Regions from separate parts of the Homo sapiens genome. Here region 2 is linked to region 1. The links are contacts of gene promoters, found by promoter capture Hi-C in blood cells and fetal thymus (Javierre and others, 2016). All regions are on one chromosome and are shown on one strand. Each heading gives the region's core, a stretch centred on a gene start or on the middle of the fragment in contact. The rest is flanking DNA. Distances are from core to core; before and after follow the strand shown. Region 1 holds the start of ASMTL-AS1 (ASMTL antisense RNA 1). Region 2 overlaps AKAP17A (A-kinase anchoring protein 17A).

Region 1 (7,434 bases), core at 4,497-6,996:
CTGACCTCTGGGGAGGGCGGCTCAGCCTGGGGCTGGAGGTTGGGGCCAGCTCTGGAGGCTGGAGTGGCTGCTGGGCGGCGGGACGGGTGTCTCAGAAGTCACTGAGGCATGGGTAGGTCTAACCTTGGGACATTGCTGTGGGGAGGGCTGTGGAGACCAAGCACATTCCTGAGGCTCTGCCAGGGCAGCGGGGGTGGACAGTGTCCCCTGAGGACCCAGGACCAAGCCAGGCTCGCTACAGGGGTCCTGGAATAGAGGACAGAGGCCAGGAGCGCTGTGGGTGCTGGGCAGGGGTGGGGAGTTTGCTGGGGAGCTGCGCCTTACAGACCTGTGTTTGTTTCCCAGCCTCAGCGAGGCCGGGCTGGACGGGGCCCTGGTGCTGGTTTTCAGTGCCTCAGCGAGGCCGGGACCAGAGCTGCTATTTCCAGATGAGGCTGGCTCGCATCTGCTCTGGCCGGGGCTCCAGGCCTGAGCCCTGCAACACGGCGTTCCCTTTCCAAGTCTGCAAAGCCTGTCTTAGGGGAGAGAAGAAGTTTCCTTCCATGCGGGTGGGGACGGCTAACCATGTCCAGACACTGAGACCGGTGCTCTGTGTGCTCAGCCTTCAGCCTGCACTGGCTTGGTGGCTTGGTGACCCGCCAGCAGGGTGGTGCTGTCTGTGGGCTCTGCTCAAGCTCCTCTCAGAGCCAGGAGGATGCCCGCCTGCTTGGGCCTGGCTCCCAGGATGTGCTTGGCAAATGCTTCTGGGATGGATGGATGGATGGGTGAGTGGATAACGGATGGATGGATAATGGATAGATGGATAATGGATAGATGGATGGATGGATGGATGATGGATGGATGGATAATGAATGGGTGGGTGGATGGATGGATGTGCTCGATCGGCAAATGCTTCTGGAATGGATGGATAATTGGATGGGTAATGGGTGGGTGGATGGATAATGGATGGATGGATGGATAATGGATGGATGGATGGATAATGGATAGATGGATGGATAATGTATAGATGGATGGATGATGGATGGATGGATGGATAATGGGTGGATGGATGATGGATAATGGGTGGATGGATGAATAATGGATGCTTCTGGGATGGATGGATAATGAGTGGGTGGATGGATAATGAATGGGTGGATGGACAGATGGATAGATGGATATGTTTGCTTGGCAAATGATTCTAGAATGAATGGATGGATGGATAATGAATGGGTGGGTGGGTGGATGGATGGATGCACTCTGTTGGCAAATGCTTCTGGGATGGATGGATGGATAATGGATGGATAGATGGATAATCAATGAGTGGGTGGATGGATGGATAGATGGATGTGTTTGCTTGGTAAATGATTCTGGAATGGATGGGTGGATGGATGGATGGATGCGCTCGATCGGCAAATGCTTCTGGAATGGATGGATAATTGGATGGGTAATGGGTGGGTGGATGGATGCATGGATAGATGGATGTGCTCACTCAGCAAATGCTTCTGGAATGAATGGATGATGGATGGATGAATAGATGGATGGATGGATGAATGGATGGATGGATGGATGGATGAATGAATTGCTAATTGGGGCTGTTTTTCCATACAGAGTGCTGCACGTGGGACTTAGCCTTGGACACTAACTCCTTTGCCCCTCGTATCTGGGAGGGAACAACACAGTTGCTATGCCTGACTAGGGCATGACCTGGGAGGCCTTTGGGGCCACACAGCCTCCTTGGGAAAGGAGGATCAGGTGGGCCTCACACCCAGGAATTGGAAGTGGGAGAGACAACAGCTGCTGGGTAGTGGGGGTAGAGCTGTGTCTCTCACTGCCCTGCCCCTCCAAGGACCAAGAAGAAAGGAATGAGCCCCGATCCGCCTGCCAGGTACCCACCCATGAGAACCCCTTCTCTGCCAGCATCTGATAAAATTACCTGCGTAGCTTTAGAGATCACTGCTGCCTGACCAGCAGCCGCTCTGCTGGAATCTGTCCAGAAAGCCCCTTGGGGCTCAGAAAAGTAGGTGGGTTAATAATAGAAGTAGATGTGGGTTTTTTTGTTTGTGTGTTTATTGAGACGGAGTCTTGCTCTGTGGCCCAGGCTGGAGTGCAGTGGCGTGATCTCGGCTCGCTGCAATCCCTGCCTCCCAGGTTCAAGCATGTCTTCTGCCTCAGCCTCCCAAGTAGCTGGGATAGCAAGTGTGCACCACCACGCCTGATTTTTGTATTTTTAGTAGAGATGGGGTTCCATCCATCCATTCCAGAAGCATTTGGCAAGCACATCCTGGGTGCCAGGCCCAAGCAGGCTGGTCTCAAACTCCTGACCTCAAGTGATCCGCCCACCTCGGCCTCCCAAAGTGCCGGGATGACAGCTGTGAGCCACCGCGCCCCGCCCAGAAGCAGAGGTGTTTTAACGGGAAGACTTCAGGCTTCATCGGACGGCCGGGAAGGAATCAGAGCAGGGGTGAGGTTGGCTTTGTGCGGGGTGGGGTGGGGTGCCAGGCTCTGTGTCGGGTGGGGGCAGCAGCACATCTTTTGTAATTAATCATTGCCGAGGCTCTGCCTGTACGAAGTGTGGTCCGGGGAGGGCTGATGAGGCTGCAGGATGAGGGGGCTTGACAGACCCCTTTCCCCAGAAGAGGGCCCCCAAAAGGCATTGCCCCTGAAGAGGGCTCCCCAAGACCTCATCCCTGAAAAGGGACTCCCAGGGTCACCCCCCTGAAAAGGGCTCCTCAAAAGGCCCCCCGAACGGGGTCCCCCCAAGACTGCCCTCTGAAGGAGGCCCCCGAAGACTTCCCCCGTGAAGGTGCCCCCCAAGACCTGCCCCCTGGAAGAGGGCTCCCCAAGACCTCTCCCCCTAGAAGAGCCCCCTAAGACTTTTACCCTGGAAAAGGGCTCTCTGCAAAGCTTCCCTGGACGTGCGCCTTCGAGCTGGGCAGGTAGGGAGGAGCTGTGTACTCGACATCATCCTTAGGATCTGTTGTCCTCCCGCTTCCCCTGCCCCGGCCCCCAGATGAATCCAGAGGCTGTTTTAGAGCCAGACGGACACTCCTGGTATGCACCAGACACTCATAGTGCAGTGCTCGCTGAGTAGAGGAGGAGTTAGTGGGTGAACCCGGCCCGCCAGGCTGCCCTGCACAGAATTCCAGCCTTGTCACCCCACTGGTTTTTAAATCATCACAATCCTCGGGATGTTCTGTGCATGCCACACACAGACTCTTAAGAGTCCAGAGGTCCTGTTTTTGCACAGTTACTCCAATGAATAAAAAGACGGGCTGGGCGTGGTGGCTCACGCCTGTCATCCGAGCACTTTGGGAGGCCGAGGCGGGGTGGATTGCCTGAAGTCAAGAGCTGAAGACCAGCCTGGCCAACATGGTGAAACCTCGTCTCTACTGAAAATACAAAAAAATTAGCTGGGCGTGGTGGTGGGCGCCTGTAATTTTAGCTATTGCGGAGGCTAAGGCAGGAGAATCGCTTGAACCCGGGAGGCGGAGGTTGCAGTGAGCCGAGATCACACCACTGCACTCCAGCCTGGGCGACAGTGAGACTGTCTCAAAAAAAAAAAAAAAAAAAAATTTCTAGCAGACACTGAAGGGAGAGGGAGAGGAACAAGCCCCAGGGACCCTTTATCCGACTTCCTTCCACCTGGGGGACTCCCTCCACGGGCCCTTGCTTTAAGGGCAAATGGCGAGGGCACCAGAACACAGGGAGGCCATGCCGGAGGTCCCTGCTGCAACCATGCGGCCCCCCAGCTCACTCCCAGCAGCCAAGACGAAGGGGGGCCTGGGCTCCCCCTAGGGCAGGCGCCTCTGATTCTCTCCACCGAGAGGCACCTCCCATGCCGGCCTCTTCCTGGGGTGACTCCCAGAACCTTCTTGGACCCATGAACATTTCAATCTGGGGTGGGGCCTTCCCTGGGCATCCAAGTGGTGGGAATCTGTCCCTAGCCCCTAGAACTCCTGGAGGGCTGGGCCCACCTCTGTCTGCATCCCGTCCCCATTCCCCGCCCCGGGTGGCAGGGGCTGGAGAGGAAGGAGCTTCAGGCTTCAAAACCATCAAAGCAGGTTTCTTCCGAGATGGCCAGTGGTCACCTGAGATGGAGCAGAGAGCACCTGTGGCGGGCATCTTCTCTAGAAGCCGCCTGTGAGCCCTACGGAGGCCCTGGGCTTCGTGCCGTAAGACAGACGGTGTCCTGCAGGTACGTGGGGGAACCCTGTAGGCAGGGACTTTGCCTGCTTTCTCAGAACAGGACAGAGGAGTTTGGCTGGGGCAGCCCGAGGTGACCGGGATGCTGTCGCCCCAGCTCTGGGCCAGGCTGATGTGGGAAGGGAGGAAGGAGGGACAGTTACGGGCCAGGCTGACGTGGGAAGGGAGGGAGGAGGGAGGTAGGAGGGACAGAGGCCTGGCTGCTCTGCAGGGCTGGGCTCCGTGGCATCTCCTGGTGGCTGTCAGGTCCTGCCTGGCCCCACGCTGAGGCCAGTGTGATGGAGGGGCCTGGAAGCCTCATCCTTCTTGATTGCCACGCGGTGAGGGCCACAGGCATGCGCCACCGCACTGGACTCCCCCTTTCATCATCAAAGCCAAATTTTCTTCTTGTTTCATCTAGGCCTCCCATGGAGACACCATGTGTGATTGTAAAAAAAAAAAAAAAATGAGTCAGGCCGGGCACGGTGGCTCACGCCTGCAATGCCAGCACTTTAGGAGGCCGAGGTGGGCAGATCACCTGAGGTCAGGAGTTCGAGACCAGCCTGGCCAACATGGTGAAACCCCGTCTCTACTAAAAATAGAAAAATTAGCCGCGTGTGGTGGCGCATGCCCGTAATCCCTGCACTGTGGGAGGCCGAGGTGGGCGGATCACCTGAGGTTAGGAGTTCTAGACCACCCTGGCCAACATGGTGAAACCCCGTCTCTACTAAAAATACAAAAATTAGCTGGGTTTGGTGGTGCGTGCCTGTAATCCCAGCACTTTGGGAGGCCAAGGTGGGCGGATTACCTGAGGTCGGGAGTTCCAGACCAACCTGGCCAACATGGTGAAACCCCATCTCTACTAAAAACACAAAAATTAGGCGGGCATGGTGGTGGGTGCCTGTAATCCCAGCTACTCAGGAGGCTGAGACAGGATAACTACTTGATCCCGGGAGGTGGAGGTTGTAGTGAGCCAAGATCGTGCCATTGCACTCCAGCCTGGGCAACAGAGTGAGATTCTGTCTCAAAAAAGAAAAAAACAGACCAAAAAAAAAACGGAGTCTGTCCAGAATTATACACAGTCACCTGTGCCAGGTAACAACCCTTCAGTCAACAACGGCCTTCCTAGACAGCGGAGGTCCCAGGAGATGGTAATACAGTAGTTTTCGTGTGCCTTTATTTGTAGACACACAAATCCCTACCATTGTATTACAGCAGCCTGCAGCACTGGGCACACTCACCTGCTGTCCAGGTTTGTAGCCCGGGAGCCTGGGGCCCTGCCGCACAGCCCAGGTGAGTAGCAGGCTGTATGTGCCACGGCGGTATGTGTGAGTGCACCCCGTGATGGGCACACAAAGAGAATTGCCTAAGGATGCATTTCCCGAAACAGGTCCCTGTCATTCAGTGACACACGTGACTGTGTGTGTGTGTGTGTGTGTGTGCGCACAGATGGGTGTGTATGTGTATGTATACACACCTGAACACTCACACCTCTACACACGTGCCTGTACACGGATAGAACACATAATTTACAGAATTTATGGAACACATAATTTATATTACATAAAATATATAGAGATCAGTTTTGTTTTCTTTTATTTATTTATTTAGACGGAGTCTCACTCTGTCGCCCAGGCTGGAGTGCAGTGGCACAATCTCGGCTCACTGCAACCTCCACCTACTGGGTTCAAGCCATCCTCCTGTCTCAGCCTCCCCCCTGTAGCTGGGATTATAGGCTCCTGCCACTATGCCCGGCTAGTGTTTGTATTTTGTGTAGAGACAGGATTTCACTCTGTTGGCCAGGCTGGTCTCGAATTCCTGACCACAGGTGATCCGCCCACCTCAGCCTCCCAAAGTGCTGGGATGACAGGCGTGAGCCACTGCACCCAGCCTATTTCAGCTGTTTTCTTAAAGCACAAAGCAACCTACACATTCTTTTGTGATACCAGGCCACTGTAAGGGTGGAGCAGCATGTGACTTTGGTGTTATTGAGATCATCCGTGACCATTGCAGAAAACCACTCCCATCTGTGCAGTGAGCACCTTGAAATAGGCCGCCCAGGAGGCAGAGGGTGCACCTTGAAATTGGGCTAGGAGGCGGAGCTTGCGCCTTGAAATAGGCCGCCCGGGAGGCGGGGCTTGCACCTTGAAATAGGCCGCCCAGAAGGCGGGGTTGCACCTTGAAATAGGCCACCCAGGAGGCGGGGCTTGCCCCTTGAAATAGGCCGCCCAGGAGGCGGGGTTGCACCTTGAAATAGGCTGCCTGGGAGGCAGAGCTCGCACCTTGATATAGGCCGCCCAGGAGGCAGGGCTTGCCCCTTGAAATAGGCCGCCCGGGAGGTGGGGTTGCACCTTGAAACAGGCCGCCTGGGAGGCGGAGCTTGCACCTTGTAATAGGCCGCCCGGGAGGCGGGGCTTGCACCTTGAAATAGGCCTAGAAGGTGGGGCTTCCACCTTGAAATAGGCCGCCCAGGAGGCGGAGTTTGCACCTTGAAATAGACTGCCCAGGAGGCGGAGGTTGCAGTGAGCCGAGATTGCATTATTGTACTCCAGTCTGGGTAAGAAGAGCTAAACTCCAGAGTCTGTCTCAGAAAAAGGAAAACAGCTGAAATATAGGAGACTGACGCCCAGCCCAGGAACAGGTAAGCTGGGTGCACGCGCCGTGAAAACAGCACCTAGGCCTGCTCCGGTTCTCGCTTTGCAGATGCCTCCTGAACCTCAGTGCCTCCTAAGGTCAAGGCTGTGAGTTAAAGGGCTCCACCCCAGCCCAGCCCCAGGTTGGCCCAGCCATTCCCTGGTGGAGGGGCCAGGGAGGAAAGGGGGCTGTGTGGGCACCAGAGGGTGAACTGAGGTCTGAGGGTCGGGACACAGGCCGGGAACAGCAGCTGGGAGCGGAGCACGGGGGAAACGTGGATGCGCTGAGCTCCCTACAACCGCAGTGAGCATGTGCCCAGGAGGGCCTCACGGGGTGGGTGTGAGTCTGGCCTGCCTGGGCTCGGGGTGGGGGGTGTTTACAGACGCATTTCAGCCCCGCAGCAGGGGCTGGGGAGGTCCCGCTCGTGACAGTCTCTGCACCAAGGCAGGAGAGATGGAAGCCGCCCAGAGAACTGCCACTCCATAGCCTGTGGGCATCCAGGGGTGAGCGGCAGCGATGGCGCCCCATGGAGGAAACACACTGGAAATCGTGCAGAAGATGGGAAGATGCAGGCTGGAGTGCGGAGAAGGACTGAGACCCTGCCTGGTAGACGGCACCGTCACAGCAGCCGTCTGCCTG
Region 2 (7,211 bases), core at 3,133-5,632, 210 kb after region 1:
GCCGCCACCGCCGCCGAAGCGAGCGGTCGCGCTCCCGGTCCCCGAGCAGGCACCGCAGTACCTGGAACAGGTAATGACGGGCACGGCCTCCCCACGGCCTGTCCGGGAAAGACCAGGACCTGCTCGAGCCTCCTGGCCGCTCCTTGGCCGCTCTCCGTCCACCCCTGCAAAGCCAAGACCCTTCTGCAGCCACGAATGTCCACGGAGCCCGCCGGCAGGAAGGAAGACACCATGCTTTAGAGATCCATCTTTCTCCACTCACCGCAGCGTACTTGGCACTTCAGTTTCAAACACGTAGTCCTTTAAAACTTGATCCGATAGCTTTAATGCGGCCGGTCCTCTCTCAGTCAGGAAAATTGCACAGACCGACAGTCGTGAGGATGGCAGAGCTGCTGCATTCCCCCACACGGGGATTTCTGTGTCTGCTTGGCGACCTCCCTGCGTGCACGGCCTAGGAGGTGCACGGGCCACCATAGTCACACTGGCACTGAAAAGAAAGCGTTGCCCTGGTGATTCTTTCCCCCCCGTTTGTAATGTTAACTGATCAGGAAGTGCAGTTTGGGTGGGATGCCGAATCGTCGTGCTGACATTGAGTCACGGATGAGGAAGGTACAAGTCCTTTAAGATCAAAACTCAAACGGGCCGTTCTTTCTAAGGTGTCGGTATGTGGGGAGTGGTACAAAATGGTCTGATGCTCCTTCAAAAACATTCACTTTTTACAACGTCAAGGAATTAAGCATAAAAAAGATTGGTTAAAAGCTTTGGTTTCTAGTAAAGGTTAGTGTGTGTGGTTTTTTTAAGAAGCTGTTTTGCTAAATTATTTTTACTTGGAATGTTTCAAACAGATTTCAGGCTGCAAACTTGTTTTATAATCGTTTGCTTCTCCAAGTGAAGCTCAGAAATACCTAAAAATAGCTGTAACGTTCGCGTTAGGAAAGATGGTGTTTATTCCAGTTTGCATTTTTATGGTGAAATAAAATCCTTTTCCAATGAACTAAAATTTTTCACGCTTACGATTTTTGTGTTTTTATGTTCCTTGGACTGCATTATTCAGCTGAGGCTAGCCAAGTGTGCGTGAAACCAGTAGAGATCGTTCGCTTTTCCTAGAACTGCTGATTCAACGATGACATATCCCACAGCTCTCCCGCAGCTGTACGGTAGTAACCTTCTGAGAGGAGAATCCTGGCTCTTAAGAGGCATCTGATTTGTTTGCTGAGAACATAAACTTAGCCAAATTCCCAAAACCAATCTTTTTTAAAGCCAAGGAGCTGTTTTTAAAGCAAATTTAAAAGACGGTCGTTCTTTTTTTTTTTTTGAGCCGGAGTCTCGCTCTGTGACCCAGGCTGGAGTGCAGTGGCACGATCTCAGCTCACTGCGAGCTCCGCCTCCCGGGTTCACACCATTCTCCTGCCTCGGCCTCCCGAGTAGCTGGGACTATAGGCGCCCGCCACCGTGCCCAGCCAATTTTTTTGTATTTTTTAGTAGAGACAGGGTTTCACGGTGTTAGCCAGGATGGTCTCGATCTCCTGACCTCGTTATCCGCCTGCCTTGGCCTCCCAAAGTGTTGGGATTACAGGCGTGAGCCACCGCGCCCGGCCAAAGACGGTTCTTTTCCCCGCCTAAAGTAGTGGTCACAGGTAGCGTAGGCACTGCCTGCTTGACCCAGGGTGGAATAGTCTGTTCCTCTGTTTAATTAAAACACAAACGTTCTTGGGGACTGGAGGGCTGGACACGTGCCTGTTGCACCCCCAAGCTCATATCACTAGCAGACAGATGAGCACTACACACACACCTTTCTCTCAAACGGCTCTGTCTGGCCTGAGACCAACTGACAAGATGCGTCCAGACACAGAGTGTTTGCAAACACGGACCTCTCAGAAGTCTGCATCTGGCCGGGCGCGGCAATTCAAGCCTGTCATCCCAGCACTTTGGGAGGCCGAGGCGGGCAGATCACGAGATCAGGAGATCGAGACCATCCTGGCTAACACAGTAAAACCCCGTCTCTACTAAAAATACAAATTAGCCAGGCGTGGTGGCGGGTGCCTGTAGTCCCAGCTACTCGGGAGGCTGAGGCAGGAGAATGGCGTGAACCGGGGAGGTGGAGCTTACAGTGAGCCGAGATCGCGCCACTGCACTCCAGCCTGGGCGACAGAGCGAGACTCCTGTCAAAAAAAAAAAAAAAAGCTGTGTATCTGTGTCAGTCTGTCCAGCCCAGCACTGAGCTTTTTGCCTGTTCAGTAGTTATTAGAGCGTTGCCAGGGCCGGGCATGGTGGCTCACACCTGTTATCCCAGCACTTTGGGAGGCCGAGGTAGGTGGATCACCTGAGGTCAGGAGTTCAAGACCAGCCTGGCCAACATGGTGAAACCCCGTCTCTACTAAAAACACAAAAAACTAGCCGGGCGTGGGGATGGTCACCTGTAATCCCAGCTACTCGGGAGGCTGAGGTAGGAGAATCGCTTGAATCTGGGGGGCAGAGGTTGCAGTGAGCCGAGATCACGCCACTGCACTCCAGCCTGGGCGACAGAGCGAGACTCCATCTCAAAAACAAACAAACAAACAAACAACGTTGCTAGGACCAGGTGTTGCTCTGGGCACCTGGGATATGGTGCTGGAAAAGACAGCACTCCCTGCAACGCTGAGGAATGTGTAGATACAGGGATGAGAAGTCCCAGTGATAGCTTCTCGAGAGAGCTGTGTGCGCAAGACAGAAGGGTGGACGTGGTGTGTCTGAGGTCAAGAAGTGCATGTGGCCGGGGGAAGGAGTAGGCAGAAGAGAAGCAGGAAAGGTGGACATGGAGCTGATCGCACTCATGAGGCTGACCCACTCCAGACTTTTGGGACGAGAAGCAAGAGGGGCTGTAAGCTGGGAGTGTGATGAGTGTGGCGGCTTGAAGTGCTGGTGGACTGGGCTAGGGGTTGATGGGAGAGAAGGTGGCAGAAATTGAATGCGTGTTGCCTTGTGATATGTTAGATGTGGGCAGTCTAGGAAAGCTGGAGAGCACCACCCCCAGGCCTATAGAATTGGGTATCTATGGAAGAGATTTAGGAATCTGAACTCCTTTTCTCTGTTTTCTCTTTTGTCTATCGCTCGTGCTCTCTCTCTCTCTCCTTCCTTCCTTCCCTCCCTCCCTTTCTTTTCCTTTTCTTTCCTTTTCTCTTTCTTTTTTCCTTTCCTTCCTTCCCTCTTTCCTATTTCTCTTTTATTTTTTGAGACGAATTCAAAAATTCTAAAATTTTTGAATTTTTAAGTAGAGGCAGGGTTTCTTCATGTTGGCCAGGCTGGTCTTGAACTCCTGACCTCAGGAGATCCACCAGCCTCGGCCTCTCAAAGTGCTGGGATTACAGGCGTGAGCCACCGCGCCCGGCTGAAATTTCTCTTCTTTGCTGTAGGGGTCAGTAGCAGTAAGTAGCGGCTGATAGGTGAGAATGGAGATTAATTGAAGCAACGCTGTTACTGATTAGATTTTGTCTTTACACTTGAGCCTGGAAGGAAGAAATGGAAGCATTCGACCCGAGGAATGTTGCCCCACAGATTTCTGGGGGGAGCATAGGAGATTGGTGTGTGCGTGCCCTGCCCTCCTCCCTCTCTCAACCCCTGTCAGTCTCTCCCCTGTTTTTCCCTGCTGTCTCTTCTCTCGCCCAGCTTCCCCTCTGCTTGTACTCTCTTCTGATCTCTGTTTTTGTCTCTGTCTCTCCTCCTTTCTTTTTTTTCTTTCTTTTTTTTTTTTTTGAGATGGAATCTCACCGTTGCCCAGGCTGGAGTGCAGTGGCGCGATCTCGGCCCAGTGCAACCTCCGCCTCCTGGGTTCAAGCAATTCTCTGCCTCAGCCTCCCAAGTAGCTGGGATTACAGGCACCTGCTGCCATGCCCGGCTAATTTTTTGTATTTTTGGTAGAGACGAGGTTTCACCATCTTGGCCAGGCTGGTCTTGAACTCCTGACCTCGTGATCCACCTGTCTTGGCCTCCCAAAATGCTGGGATTATAGGCGTGAGCCACCGCTCCCGGCCTGTCTCTCCTCCTCTCTTAATCCTTCCTTCTCTCCTCTCGCCCAGCTTCCCCTCTGCTTGCCCTCTCTCCCTATCTCTATTTTAGTCTCTCTTTGTCTCTCTCGGTCTTGTGATTTAGGGCACTTTGTGTTCAGTCCCTTTCTAGTGATTGGGATTATTATCCACTTAAAATATCCACAATAGGCCGGGTGCAGTGGCTCATCCCTGTAATCCCAGCACGTCGGGAGGTCGAGGCTGGTGGATCTCCTGAGGTCAGAAGTTCAAGACCAGCCTGACCAACATGGAGAAACCCTGTCTCTACTAAAAATACAAAAATTAGCCAGGCGTGTTGTCACATGCCTATAGTCGCAGCTACTCAGCAGGCTGAGGCAGGAGAATTACTTGAACCTGGGGGGCGGAGATTGCGGTGAGCTGAGATCGCACCATTGCACTCCAGCTTGGGCGACAAGAGTGAAACTCTGTCTCACAAAAAATAAAAAATAAAAAATAAAAATCCACAAGGAATTTCACTTCCATGTGGCAGAACAGAAAACGAATGGATTTATTGCAAAATACGAGTGAGAAAGTGTGATTCTCTCGTTCATACCCTTTTATGACACTTAGTTCTGAACCGATTTGCCTCGTGTCTTCAGTTGGGATCTCAGGATCTCTTTCAGCCAAAAAAATCAAACTTCCCTGTTGAGTATGGCCTGTGTCACGGTGACCATCCTCGGCTCCTTCCGTTTTTTTGTTTTTTTTCAAGACAGTCTCGCTCCGTCGCCCAGGCTGGAGTGCAGTGGCACAATCTCGGCTCTCCACAACCTCCGCCTCCCGGGTTCAAGTGATTCTCCTGCCTCAGCCTCCCAAGTAGCTGGGATTACAGGTGTCTGCCACCACACCTGGCTATTTTTTTTTTTTTTAATTTTTAGTAGAGATGGGGTTTCACCAGGTTGACCAGGCTGGTCTCAAGCTCCTGACCTCAGGTGATCCACCTGCCTCCCAAAGTGCTGGGAATATAGGCATCAACCACCGCACCCAGCCTCACCAGGTAAACTTTCAAGTTCAAAAGTGCAGCTTGGAATTCCAGAGGGAAGGAGGATGGGGATACGGGTACGTGTGAATAAAGCAGCGCTGTGTCTACGATTCCACTCTCTGTGCTCACGTGAACACATTACTCAGCTCCCACTCAGAAGTGAGAACACGCTGCGTTTGACTTTCTGTGTCTCTGTGATTTCAATTAAAGTAACGGCCTCCAGGGTAACGAAACTGCACTTCTATGCCCTAAATCTATAATAATACATCAAGGTAAAAAAAAAAAAAATGGGCCAGGTGCAGTGGCTGACGCCTGTCATCCCAGCACTCTGGGAGGCTGAGGCAGGCAGATCACCCGAGGTCAGGAGTTCCAGACCAGCCCAGCCAACACGGTGAAACCCCATCTCTACTAAAAATACAAAAATTACCTGGACATGGAGGTGCGTGCCTGTAGTCCCAGCTACTCGGGAGGCTGAGGCAGGAGAATCGCTTGAACCCGGGAGGCGGAGGTTGCAGTGAGCCGAGATCACCCCACTGCACACCAGCCTGGATGACAGAGTGAGATTCCATCTCAAATAAATAAATAAATAAATAAAATGTATTTCAAAAGTGCCAATATGACATGAACTGCTGTTAATTTGTTCACCTGTATTGTTAAAATGGGTGAATACGGTTACCAGATTGTGATCATGTTCAAATTCCATAGGCCGCAGCCTTCGGGATGAAGCAAAGAGTTTTTGAAAAATTACATATTCTATGTCTAAAATGGCACCATCTGCATTTTTGAAAAATTTTAGATAATATTACAAATGCGTAGGTTGGCTCATGCCTGTAATCCCAGCACTCTGGGAGGCCGAGGCAGGAGGATAGCTTGAGCCCAGGAGTTTGAGAACAGCCTGGGCAACATAGCAAGACCCCATCTCTACAAAGATAATTAATCAGGCTTGGTGGCAGGCACCTGTAGTCCCAGCTACTCAGGAGGCTGAGGCAGGAGGATTGACTGAGCCCAGGCATTCGAGACCAGCCTGGGCAACATGGTGAGAGCTTGTCTCTAGCAAACATACAGAAACTTTAAAGTTTTTAAAGTAGCTGGGCGTGGTGGTGGGTGCCTGTGGCCCCAGCTACTCGGGAGGCTGAGGCAGGAGGATCGCTTGACCCCAGGAGTTCAAGGCTGCAGGGAGAAATGATGGTGCCCCTGCACTCCAGCCTGAGCGACAGAGTGAGACCCCATCTCTAAAAGAGAGACCCTCTGTCTCTAAAAAGAAAAACAGACCGGGCGCGGTGGCTCACGCCTGTAATCCCAGCACTTCGGGAGGCCCAGGCGGGCGGATCACGAGGTCAGGAGATCGAGACCATCCTGGCTAACACGGTGAAACCCCGTCTCTACTAAAAATACAAAAAAAACTAGCCGGGCGTGGTGACGGGCGCCTGTGGTCCCAGCTACTCCGGAGGCTGAGGCAGGAGAACGGTGTGAACCCGGGAGGCGGAGCTTGCAGTGAGAGGCGATTGCGCCACTGCACTCCAGCCTGGGCGACAGAGCGAGACTCCATCTCAAAAAAAGTAAAACAATAAAGAGTATAGAAAAACATGCATGCATGGGGGGTATAGGAGAGGTCCCAGCCCTCAGCCGTAGCCATGGATGTCCAGGTGGTGATGTGTTGCCCTGGCCCGCCCCGCAGGCCTCCAGCATCTCCAACAGCGGCTTCCCAGGGGATGCTGAAGCTGCGGCCGGACCGGCCAGCTCGGGCAGGGGTGAGCGGAGCTGCATCACCCAGGCATCCCGTCTGGGACCTCCTCCCATGCCTCCTTCCTGGGCACCTGCCCCTCCTCACTAGCTCATCCTCCTTCCCACCTGGTGGAGGACACGCACACCCTCCTGGTGGCGTCCTCAAGCCCCGTCCACCTGCCCAGGAGCTGGGGCATCCTGTGTCTCCCGCCTTGCTCTCCTGCACAGCCTGACTCAGAGCGGGAGCTCGACCCCCTACCCTCCCCGCTGTACGCTGCCCCAGCAAACCTCCCGAGTTTGCACCCGGCCACTGGATCGGCCTGCACAGGGGCTGCCGCCTCCGTCCCAGATGGCAGGGGCTTTTCCCTGCACCCCACCTCACTCAGCTCATGCCTCTGCTCCTGGTGAAAAACTTTTCCCATCACTCCGTCCCGTCCCCTCTCTGCAGCAAATGACTCTTGTCC

Evidence for each region. Contacts are between HindIII fragments. The CHiCAGO score rates a contact against its expected background, and 5 or more counts as called.
Region 2: a fragment that was not itself captured here is called in contact with the fragment with the promoter of ASMTL-AS1 in region 1 in 2 of 17 cell types (naive CD8 T cells and neutrophils); the score reaches 6.4 in naive CD8 T cells.

Annotation. Positions count from the first base shown.
Region 1 is chrX:1,394,785-1,402,218 of GRCh38, forward strand. ASMTL-AS1 (ASMTL antisense RNA 1) reads left to right here and starts at 5,747. Exons shown (of 6, transcript NR_026711.1): 1 at 5,747-5,802; 2 at 6,678-7,434. LINC00106 (long intergenic non-protein coding RNA 106) reads left to right here and starts at 2,241. Exons shown (of 3, transcript NR_130733.1): 1 at 2,241-2,440; 2 at 4,041-4,174; 3 at 4,583-4,628. LOC124900597 (serine/arginine repetitive matrix protein 1-like) reads left to right here. Exons shown (of 5, transcript XM_011546186.2): 3 at 346-764; 4 at 1,588-2,440; 5 at 4,041-4,077. The coding sequence ends at 1,608. The HindIII fragment of the contact is 21,745 bases long and covers 2,882-7,434 here.
Region 2 is chrX:1,601,521-1,608,731 of GRCh38, forward strand. It overlaps AKAP17A (A-kinase anchoring protein 17A), which reads left to right. Exons shown (of 5, transcript NM_005088.3): 5 at 1-1,000. The coding sequence ends at 74. Among named protein-coding and RNA genes, the nearest start is that of ASMT, 9.9 kb to the right of the region's middle. RefSeq lists a silencer at 6,756-6,928. The HindIII fragment of the contact is 7,250 bases long and covers 758-7,211 here.